Regions from separate parts of the Homo sapiens genome. Here region 2 is linked to region 1. The links are contacts of gene promoters, found by promoter capture Hi-C in human tissues and cell types (Jung and others, 2019). All regions are on one chromosome and are shown on one strand. The core of a region is centred on a gene start or on the middle of the fragment in contact, and the rest is flanking DNA. Distances in the headings are between cores, read along the strand shown. Region 1 holds the start of HEATR4 (HEAT repeat containing 4). Region 2 overlaps NUMB (NUMB endocytic adaptor protein).

Region 1 (4,780 bases), core at 482-2,981:
CTTTTTTTTTTTTTTTGAGATGGAGTCTTGCTCTGTCGCCCAGGCTGGAGTGCAGTGGCCCAATCTCGGCTCACTGCAAGCTCCGCCTCCCGGGTTCATGCCATTCTCCTGCCTCAGCCTCCAAGTAGCTGGGACTACAGGCGCCTGCCACCACGCCTGGCTAATTTTTTTGTATTTTTAGTAGAGATGGGGTTTCACCGTGTTACCCAGGATGGTTTAAATCTCCTGACCTCGTGATCCGCCCAACTTGCCTCCCAAAGTGCTGGGATTATGGGCGTGAGCCACAGCGCCTGGCTCAGTCTTTACTTTTCATAACAGAAAACGTACCCTCTGCTTTTTATGGGGGTCTAACCATCTGAGTGCAGCTTGAGCTCAAGTGCTAAAGTCCATATTCAGGTTGGTCAGCAGCAGCAGTCTTGCTTGGAACCAAGAGATGGACCACCTGAATAGCATGACCTGGGTCAACGAGACAGAGCCTTAGGCCCAGAAATCTTTCCTGCTGTCAGGATAAATTAGTTTGTTTCACAAAGGGACTCTTGAAGATCAGAATTTCTGTATCTGTAAGACTTCTATGACTTAAAGAATTTCTGTACGTGTGAAATTATACTATTAGAAATACAAGATTGAAGAGTCTCCTTGTAAAAGCTAGTGTTAATGGCTAATAATCTAGCCAGGATTTAGAGATCAGGGAAAATGGGATTGAACTGTGTGGGCAAAGGAGATTAAGTAGCAGTGGAGGAGCTGAAAGGGGAATGGAAAAGTCGACGGACAGCTTCTACTTTACCATCTGTTTTATCAGCCTGGTAATCTGACGCCTGCCAGAACTATGTGGTCATGTGTTCCCTGCTTTGCCTCTTTCTCAGGATTTATAAACCCTTGTGGTGGGAGAATATGGAGCTGCATATATCTAGAGGGTTTTTTTATTTTTATCTTTTGAGACTGCACTTCACTCTTGCTGCCCAGGCTGGAGTGCAATGGCCTGATCTTGGCTCACTGCAACCTCTGCTTCCTGGGTCCAAGCGATTCTCCTGCCTCAGCCTCCCGAGTAGCTGGGATTACAGGCATGCGCCACCAGGCCCAGGTGATTTTCTTTTTAAATTTTCTATTTTTAGTAGAGATGGGGTTTCACCATGTTGGTCAGGCTGGTCTCTAACTCCTGACCTCAGGTGATCCGCCACCTCAGCCTCCCAAAGCGCTGAAATTGCAGGCGTGAGCCATCGCGCCTGGCTGAGGTTTATTTTTCAAAGAATGACCAAGAGGCTAGGTGTGGTGGCTCACAGTTGCAAATCCCAGCACTTTGGGAGGCCAAGGCGGACACATCACTTGAGGTCAGGAGTTTGAGAACAGCCTGTCCAACATGGTGAAACCCCATCTCTACTAAAAGTACAATTAGTGGGGCATGGTGGTGTGGCCTGTAATGGGAGGCTGAGACAGGAGAATTGCTTGAACCTGGGAGGCACAGGTTGCAGTGAGCCGAGATCGCACCACTGCACTCCAGCCTAGGCAACTGAGTGAGACTGTCTCAAAAAAGAAAAAAGACCAAAAACTCCATGAAACTACCATTCAATAAATAATCAATAAATAAGATGCAATTTCTCAAAGCTCAGTTTACAAAGAAGGAAATTTAATAAATGGTTGAAGATATACCCCCGACTGAACCCACAAGTTCTCTGAGTAGACTCATGGAATTCTAAAGAGTTGGTTGCTTGGAGACTGATAGAAACAGCTTTGGAACCTAAGAAACCAAGGAAGGCTTAAGATGCAGAACCTTGCTTCTCTCTGAGGACTGCCTTTTAGGAGGCCATTTGGAAAGTAATTTTGAAACACTGCTCCTTTGCCAGTATCTGAAAGGTGCTGGATGGTGTCAGCTGGAAGATGAGGGGCAACCTGAGGTAGCTGAAAAAACTTTGGATTAGGTGTCAAAAGGGTCAGTACTACTTTAGATACCAAGCAGTATGGTGATCTTAATGATTTCTCTTCTCTCTGGGCCCCAGTTTTGGGATTTATAAAATCAGGACATTAGGCCTGGTGCAGTGGCTCATGCCTGTATTCCCAGCATTTTGGGAGGCCAAGGTGGGAGGACTGTTTGAGTCCAGGAGTTCAAGACCAGCCTGAGCAACATAGTGAGACTCTATCTCTACAAAAAAAAAAAAAAAAAAAAAAATTTAACCGAGAGTGGTGTGCTATGTGCCTATGCTCCCAGCTATGTGGGAGGATTGCTTGAGCCCAGGAGGTCAAGGCTGCAGTGAGTCATGATCACGCCACTGTACTCCAGGAGAGTGAGACCCTGTCTCAAAAAAAAAAAAACAAATCAAGGCATTAGACCAGGTCATCTTTATAGCAGAGTTTCCAGAGTAATCTCTGGAGATAGCTGTATAGCTGTGTGAGTGCATGGTAAAAAATTAGAAAGTAGAGGGGAAAAAATGAGGGGAACTTTTTGAGGGCAAAAAGGGAGAAAGGGGGACTTGAAACAAGCCAGGTTAAGCAGCTGTTCCCTAATCCCACTCTCCCCACTAACCAGGCTTCCTTCATACACCCCACTGACACCCTTTGGGCTGTGCTTTCTTTAAATGTATTGTGTATTAAACCTGAGAGCTTGTGAAAATGCAGATTTCTAGGCCTCACTTGCAGGCTACTGAATCAGCATTCTGGGAGTAGGACACAAGAGTCTGATGTAAAAGGTTCTTTACCCATATCTATTCCAGGCATAGTCCCAGCATTTCTGGAGGCCAAGGCAGGAAGATCACTTGATTCCAGGAGTTTGAAACCAGCCTGGACAACATAGTAAGACCCTGTCTCTACAAAAAAAAGTTTTAAAACATTAGCCAGGCATGGTGGTGCACACCTGTGGTCCCAGCTACTGGGGACGCTGAGGCAGGAGGATTGCTTGAGCCTGGGAGGCAAGGCTGCAGTGAGCCATGACTGTGCCACCGCACTCCAGCTTGGGTGACAGAGTGAGGCCCTGTCTCAAACATAAATAAATAAACAAAAAACTGTATCTAACAAACACCACCCCAGAAGCTGACTGCACACTCTTGGACTCCACCTCAGAACTTCAGAATCCAAATCTGTTGGTAGAGATGAGAGTATTATTTTTTTAAAGCTTTCAGAAGATACTGATACTAAGGCTTATTGCTTTTTAGTCTTTTCTTTCAAGGCAGTTTCCTCTATTTTAATAACAAGGGAGAATGCAAGATATTACTCCTTTTAGCACATGTTACTCAACCTACTTTGACCACTTGTACAGGATAAAGGTATCAGACCAGAGGGTGAGGGTAAGCGACTGATAAGCAAACAGAAAAGTGGAACTAAATTTGGAATCTCTGAGATACTACCCAGTTTGAGTTGAGTTCTGTATTCATAAAATATTAGAGGCAGGAGAGGAATTTAGTCCAACTCCTACGTTTTCCAGCTGGGGATCTAGGAAGTTCATCAGGTTTTAACTAGAGGCATGTGGCCTAACCCTTCCAACCCCATTCCTCCCCTTCTAGCCCAAGTTCCTAGAAATGCAGATAATGCTGGTGGGTTGCTCATTCCAGGGCCTGGTCTGCAGTTATGCCAGGATTGACTTAGTCAATTTTTTATGCTGTCTATGTACAAAAGGACCCCGGACCTGCCACTCTGCTTTTGGTTCTAGAGGGCTATTTGTTGGGAGTGGGGTGCTGCCTCATAATGCTGGTCACGTAATGTGTAAGTTTCGATAATAAGGAGCCTCCAAACTCCATTAATAAGTCCTTTCTTTCTTCTCTAAGCACCCTCTCTTTTAATTGCTGAGTACCCCATAGCCCTAAATTCTTCCCGAAGCGCCCAGTGCATCTAACTGTAGGACCCAGAGACTTGCCTTCTAAGGACAACAGTCCATCCTCTAAACTAATAATAACAATTCCTCACACATATATTTTAGTTTGCAAAGAACTTTCATACGTTTCTAATTTTGAGGTTCATATCAATCAACACTAAATTAGAACAGGTATCAGACTCAATTTTCAGATTGGGAAACTACAGATTTCAAATTATTTGCCCAAGGTAACATGACTGGGAAGTGCACAATTTGGCCTTACACCTGTCCCGTGACTCCAAGACAGACAAAGACAAGCCAGAACAAGCCTCTTTTGATCAGACCTTGTGTAACATTTTGTTCTGTCCCCATTCCTTTTCAAAACAGACCTATCATGTGTTCCCTTCCTTCTTAATAAGCCATCATATCGGATGATAATAACTATTCCTTAAGTTTTTTTTGTTTTTTTTTTTTGAGAAGAAGTTTCACTCTTGTCACCCAGCCTGGAGTGCACTGGTGTGATCTTGGCTCACTGCAACCTCCGCCTCCTGGGTTCAAGCGATTCTCCTGCCTCAGCCTCCTGAGTAGCTGGGATTACGGGTGCCTGCCACCATGCCTGGCTAATTTTTTGTATTTTTAGTAGAGATGGGGTTTCGCCATGTTGGCCATGCTGCTCTTGAACTGCTGACCTCTGGTGATCTGCCTGCCTCAGCCTCCCAAAGTGTTGGGATTACAGGCGTGAGCCACCGCACCCAGCCTCCTTAAGAATTTCTAATAATTGATAATGGTAATATGGTATTCTTTCTGGGATGTTTGCATTGTAACTAAAGATTCTTTATGTCAAAGGCTAAAGGGCATTTATCTGCGGACACCCTAAATCACTCCTTTTTTTTTGAGATAGAGTTTTGCTCTTGTTATCCAGGCTGGAGTGCGGTGGCACGATCTCGGCTCGCTGCAACCTCTGCTTGTCAGGTTCAAGCAACTCTCCTGCCTCAGCCTCCC
Region 2 (4,780 bases), core at 1,135-3,634, 260 kb after region 1:
GATGACATTTTTTTAATATTATATATGTGTATCTCCCCCTCCCCTTTTTGGTTTCTCTTAAAAGACTGGAAAGAAAGCAGTTAAAGCAGTTCTGTGGGTCTCAGCAGATGGACTCAGAGTTGTGGATGAAAAAACTAAGGTAAGATTCTTTATTTTTATTTTGATTTATTTTATTTTTTTTGGAGATGGAGTTTCACTCTTGTCACCCAGGCTGGAGTGCAATGGCACGATCTCGGCCCACCGCAACCTCCACCTCCCAGGTTCAAGCGATTCTCCTGCCTCAGCCTCCCTAGTAGCTGGGATTACAGGCATGTGCCACCATGCCCAGCTAATTTTGTATTTTTAGTAGAAATGGGGTTTCTCCATGTTGGTCAGGCTGGTCTCGAACTCCTGACCTCAGGTGATCCGCCCACCTCGGCCTCCCAAAGTGCTGGGATTACAGGTGTGAGCCACTGCGCCCGGCCTCGCCTGGCTAATTTTTGTATTATTAGTAGATACGGGGTTTCACCATGTTGGCCAGGCTGATCTCGAACTCCTGACCTCAGGTGATCCACCGGCAGCCTCCTAAAGTGCTGGGATTACAGGAGTGAGCCACCACGCCTGGCCTAAGGTAAGATTCTTATAAGCTTAAATGGGACTGCTCATATGTTTTTTAAAATCTCTAATGATCAAATATAATACCCTTAAGCTGTTGAAGGGTATTATATTGTTGAAGCTTTATCCTTCCACTTAGTCCAAAGTACAATCTCCTGAGAGACTATTTAACGTTCAGGAAACCACTTTAGTTACTCATTTACTTTATGAGAAATAGTATTCTCTCAACATATTGTTCTACATGACATAGCATGTCTAAGGTACTAAGCATTAGCATTTAGTGTTAAGATCTGAGTTCTTTTTTTTTTTTTTTTGAGATGGAGTTTCACTCTTGTTGCCCAGGCTGGAGTGCAGTGGCACGATCCCAGCTCACTGCAACCTCCACCTCCTGGGTTCAAACGATTCTCCTGCCTTAACCTCCCAAGTAGCTGATTACAAACACAGACCACCATGCCCCGCTAATTTTTGTATTTTTGGTACAGATGAGGTTTCACCATGTTGGTCAGGCTGGTCTTGAACTTCCGACCTCAAGTGATCCACCCGCCTTGGCCTCCCAAAGTGCTGGGATTACAGGCATGAGCCACCGCTCGTGGCCTATTTTTGTTCTTATATATTTTTTAATAAGTTTCCACTCTCACAAATTTGATACAATAGATGATAGACTATCCTTTTACCATGTTTTAAAATTAAAAAAAGATGGACTCCACATCTGAAATTTCTTCTTGCTCTGAAGAAAACACTATTTTAAGAAAATGATATTTGAACTAATTAACCTGGCTTTTGACTCAAAACTCAATTTAAGTGACATCTTAAGGACTAGTGAATGGCTCTTTGGTTAACATTTACTTAGAATCCAAATAATATCTCAAATCATAGGTACCATTTTGCATTTGAGAGACAGTGATCCTAAATGCCTAAATAAGAATAGACACACAGCTCTACCCCTAGAAAGCATAGGGTGTTATATAAGTACATTTAATTGTTAATTAAAATTTCCTAGAATACCTAAAGTCAGGAAGAAATTTAACAAGAAGATAATTAAAAAAAAAAAATTCAAATGCCACTGAAAGGGGAGAAAGTCTGGCAGGTAAAAAGCAGTTTTGATAGGCAACTTGCCTGGTAAATTTCAAGTGGTTTAATATAGCTGCATTTTAGTTATTTGACCTTATTACATTGCATACTTTTTTTTAAGTTCAAGAGAAGCAATAGTCTTCACTTTTAGTACATTACTGTTGGAAACAGTGATCATTTTAATTATTTTTTGGAACTTGTGTAGTTTTCATTAGTGTTTGGATGAAATTTGTTATACTTGAAAGCTATGTATTTAATTGTTTTATACAATAGTTGGAAAGTGATATTGCCCCCTTGTGGCTACTTACACCACTGGCATTCATTAGTTTAGTTTTTTCCACACTGAATAGTAGTAATTAGTAGTCATTGGTGGCTTGTCACCATTGGGACCATCTTCCCACCTTGTATTTCACTATAAGCGGGAACTAATACCATGTTGGGATCAGTATTGGTGATAACACCATGCCATGATCTGCACAAATTTTTATGAAACAGAAGCTGAAATCTGAAGCCCTTAACCTTTGAGCAAGAAGCTCTGTCAGATTGCCTTGCTATCCCACCTCTCAACTCATGTCTATCTTGATTCTGATAGTGTTCCTACCTTTTTTTTTTTTTTTTTTTTTTTGAGACAGTGCCTTATACTGTCACCCAGGCTGGAGTACAGTGGCACAGACATAGTTCACTGCAGCCTCAGCCTCCTAGGCTGAGATAATTTTTTTTTTTTTTTTTTTTTTAGAGATGGGTTCTCACTATGTTGCCCAAGCTGGTTTCGAACCCCTGGGCTCAAGCAGTCCTTCCACCTCGGCGTCCCAAAGTGCAGAAGACAGAATTTGAGGCAACAGTAGCCACTAGAAGGTAAAAAGAGAGGCTGGGCGTGGTGGCTCACACCTGTAATCCCAGCACTTTGGGAGGCCAAGGCGGGTGGATCACTTGAGTCCAGTAGTTTGAGACCATCCTGGCCAACATGCTGAAACCCTGTCTCTCCTAAAAATACAAAAAATTCGCTGGGCATGGTGGTGCGTGCCTATGGTTCCAGCTACTTGGGAGGCTGAGGCATGAGAGTCACTTGAACCTAGGAGGCAGAGGTTGCAGTAAGCTGAGATTGCATCATTGCACTCCAGCAGCCTGGGCGACAGAGCAAGACTATCTCAAAAAAAGAAAGTAAAAAGAGAATCCTGGAAATGAGTAAGCCAAAAAGGAGTAGTCCCAAATTCTGTTCATAAATTCTGCCCAAATCTCTGACCCTTTTAGCCATGTAGATTCAAGGCAGACTCCAAATAGCCCAACTAAGGATATAAAAACTGATATTTGATTACCTACGTATGGTGACATGCACCTGTAGTCCTAGCTCCTCGGGAGGCTGAGGCGGGAGGATGCTTGAGCCCTGGAGTTGAGGTTACAGTGAGCAGTGATTGCGCCACTGCACTCCAGCCTGGATGACGGAGCAAGACAGTCTCAAAAAAAGAACAAAAACGCCCTGATGTCTGAGGTGCTGTTCAAAAGATAAGAGTTTTCCATTTGAGTATAATCAAATTAGCTACCTGATAAAACCAAAAATATGACACTTCCAAGGAATGTAACGGAATCCATTCTTTCCACATACAACATTCACAATGACTACAATGCAGTTACTCAGCATACAACAAAACAGACAAGTCTGACTTATTCTCATCAAAATAACAATCAATAAAGACCTAACTTCAAGATGACTCAGATGTTGGAATTAGCAGACAGATTTTAAATGCCCGCCTTCACTATTTGACCAAGAAATAAATGTCTCTTGTATTTGAGTCATTGTATTGTTTTGTGTTTATAGCATCACCACAACTAGTACAGAAAATGGTACACTGAAGTAGACTGCTACCTTAACAGAAATGAAAACAGTGTATAGAAGGCATTATAACTATACTCAGTGACAGAAAGGAAATATGTTCATGTTGAATGAAGAGATAGAAATCTTGGCAGAGAATAGAAACTATGAAAAAGAAACAAATGGCTGGGCACGGTGGCTCGTGCCTGTAATCCCAGCACTTTGGGAGGCCAAGGCAGGTGGATCATGAGGTCAGGAGATTGAGACCGTCCTGGCTAACACAGTGAAACCTGTCTCTACTAAAAATACAAAAAAATTAGCCGGGCGTGGTGGCACACGCCTGTAGTCCCAGCTGCTTGGGAGGCTGAGGCAGGAGAATTGCTTGAACCCGGGAGGCAGAGGTTGCAGTGAGCCAAGATCGCGCCACTGCACTCCAGCCTGGGTGACAGAGTGAGACTGTCCAAAAAAAAAAAAAAAAAAAGAAAAAGAAACGAGTGGAAATTCCACACCTGAAAAATACAGTATCTGAAGTAACTTCACTGGATCGGGTATATATAATGTAAAAAAGCAAGGTGCAGAACTGTGTGTATGTGTGTGTAGTGTTCATTGTGTAACGAAGTTAGCATAAACATGACTATTATATGTATTTGCTTATATTTGGGAATAAACCCAAAGGATTTTTTTTTTATCCAAAGGATTAAAGATACTGATTTACATATATTGTTGAATGTGGAATCTACCATGAAAGAGATGTAAAACTAGAATCAACAAGCATATGCTTTAGAACATGTAGTTGAGAGAGGTATCTGGGCAAAGTGCCTCTTGGGATGTCTGCTGAGTCCAATTCTCAGTATTTAAACTGCTGGACACAGATCTAGGTATTCCATAGCCTAGTTGTATCAGATGTATGGATTGTGCATCATGAAATGAACATCCTGTGTTCTGAGAAGCTCAGATAACCTCATAAGTCTTCTCTTTCTTTGTGTGTCGTATTTTCTAGGACCTCATAGTTGACCAGACGATAGAGAAAGTTTCTTTCTGTGCCCCAGACAGGAACTTTGATAGAGCCTTTTCTTACATATGCCGTGATGGCACCACTCGTCGCTGGATCTGTCACTGCTTCATGGCTGTCAAGGACACAGTGAGTCCAGCAAATATGTATTTCATGATGAGTATTCTCAGTTAGCTGGGCTCTTTCTGGGTTTGCTCAGCCAAGCGGTTTCTACTACATTTTTAACAAGTACTTGGAAGTGCCTAAACTAGCCTACTTTCAGCTCCTTTTATTCAAATAGTTCACACTCTTGA

Evidence for each region. The method cuts DNA at HindIII sites, captures the fragments that hold promoters and counts their contacts. A contact is called where the count stands out against the background at its distance.
Region 2: a contact is called between a fragment that was not itself captured here and the fragment with the promoter of HEATR4 in region 1, in 1 of the 25 tissues and cell types used here (mesenchymal stem cells).

What each region holds. Positions count from the first base shown.
Region 1 is chr14:73,555,898-73,560,677 of GRCh38, reverse strand. It overlaps HEATR4 (HEAT repeat containing 4), which reads left to right and starts at 1,731. Exons shown (of 18, transcript NM_001220484.1): 1 at 1,731-1,927. RefSeq lists an enhancer at 730-899. The HindIII fragment of the contact is 20,630 bases long and covers 1-4,780 here.
Region 2 is chr14:73,292,570-73,297,349 of GRCh38, reverse strand. It overlaps NUMB (NUMB endocytic adaptor protein), which reads left to right. Exons shown (of 13, transcript NM_001005743.2): 7 at 65-139; 8 at 4,476-4,616. Among named protein-coding and RNA genes, the nearest start is that of PAPLN-AS1, 49 kb to the right of the region's middle. The HindIII fragment of the contact is 3,425 bases long and covers 672-4,096 here.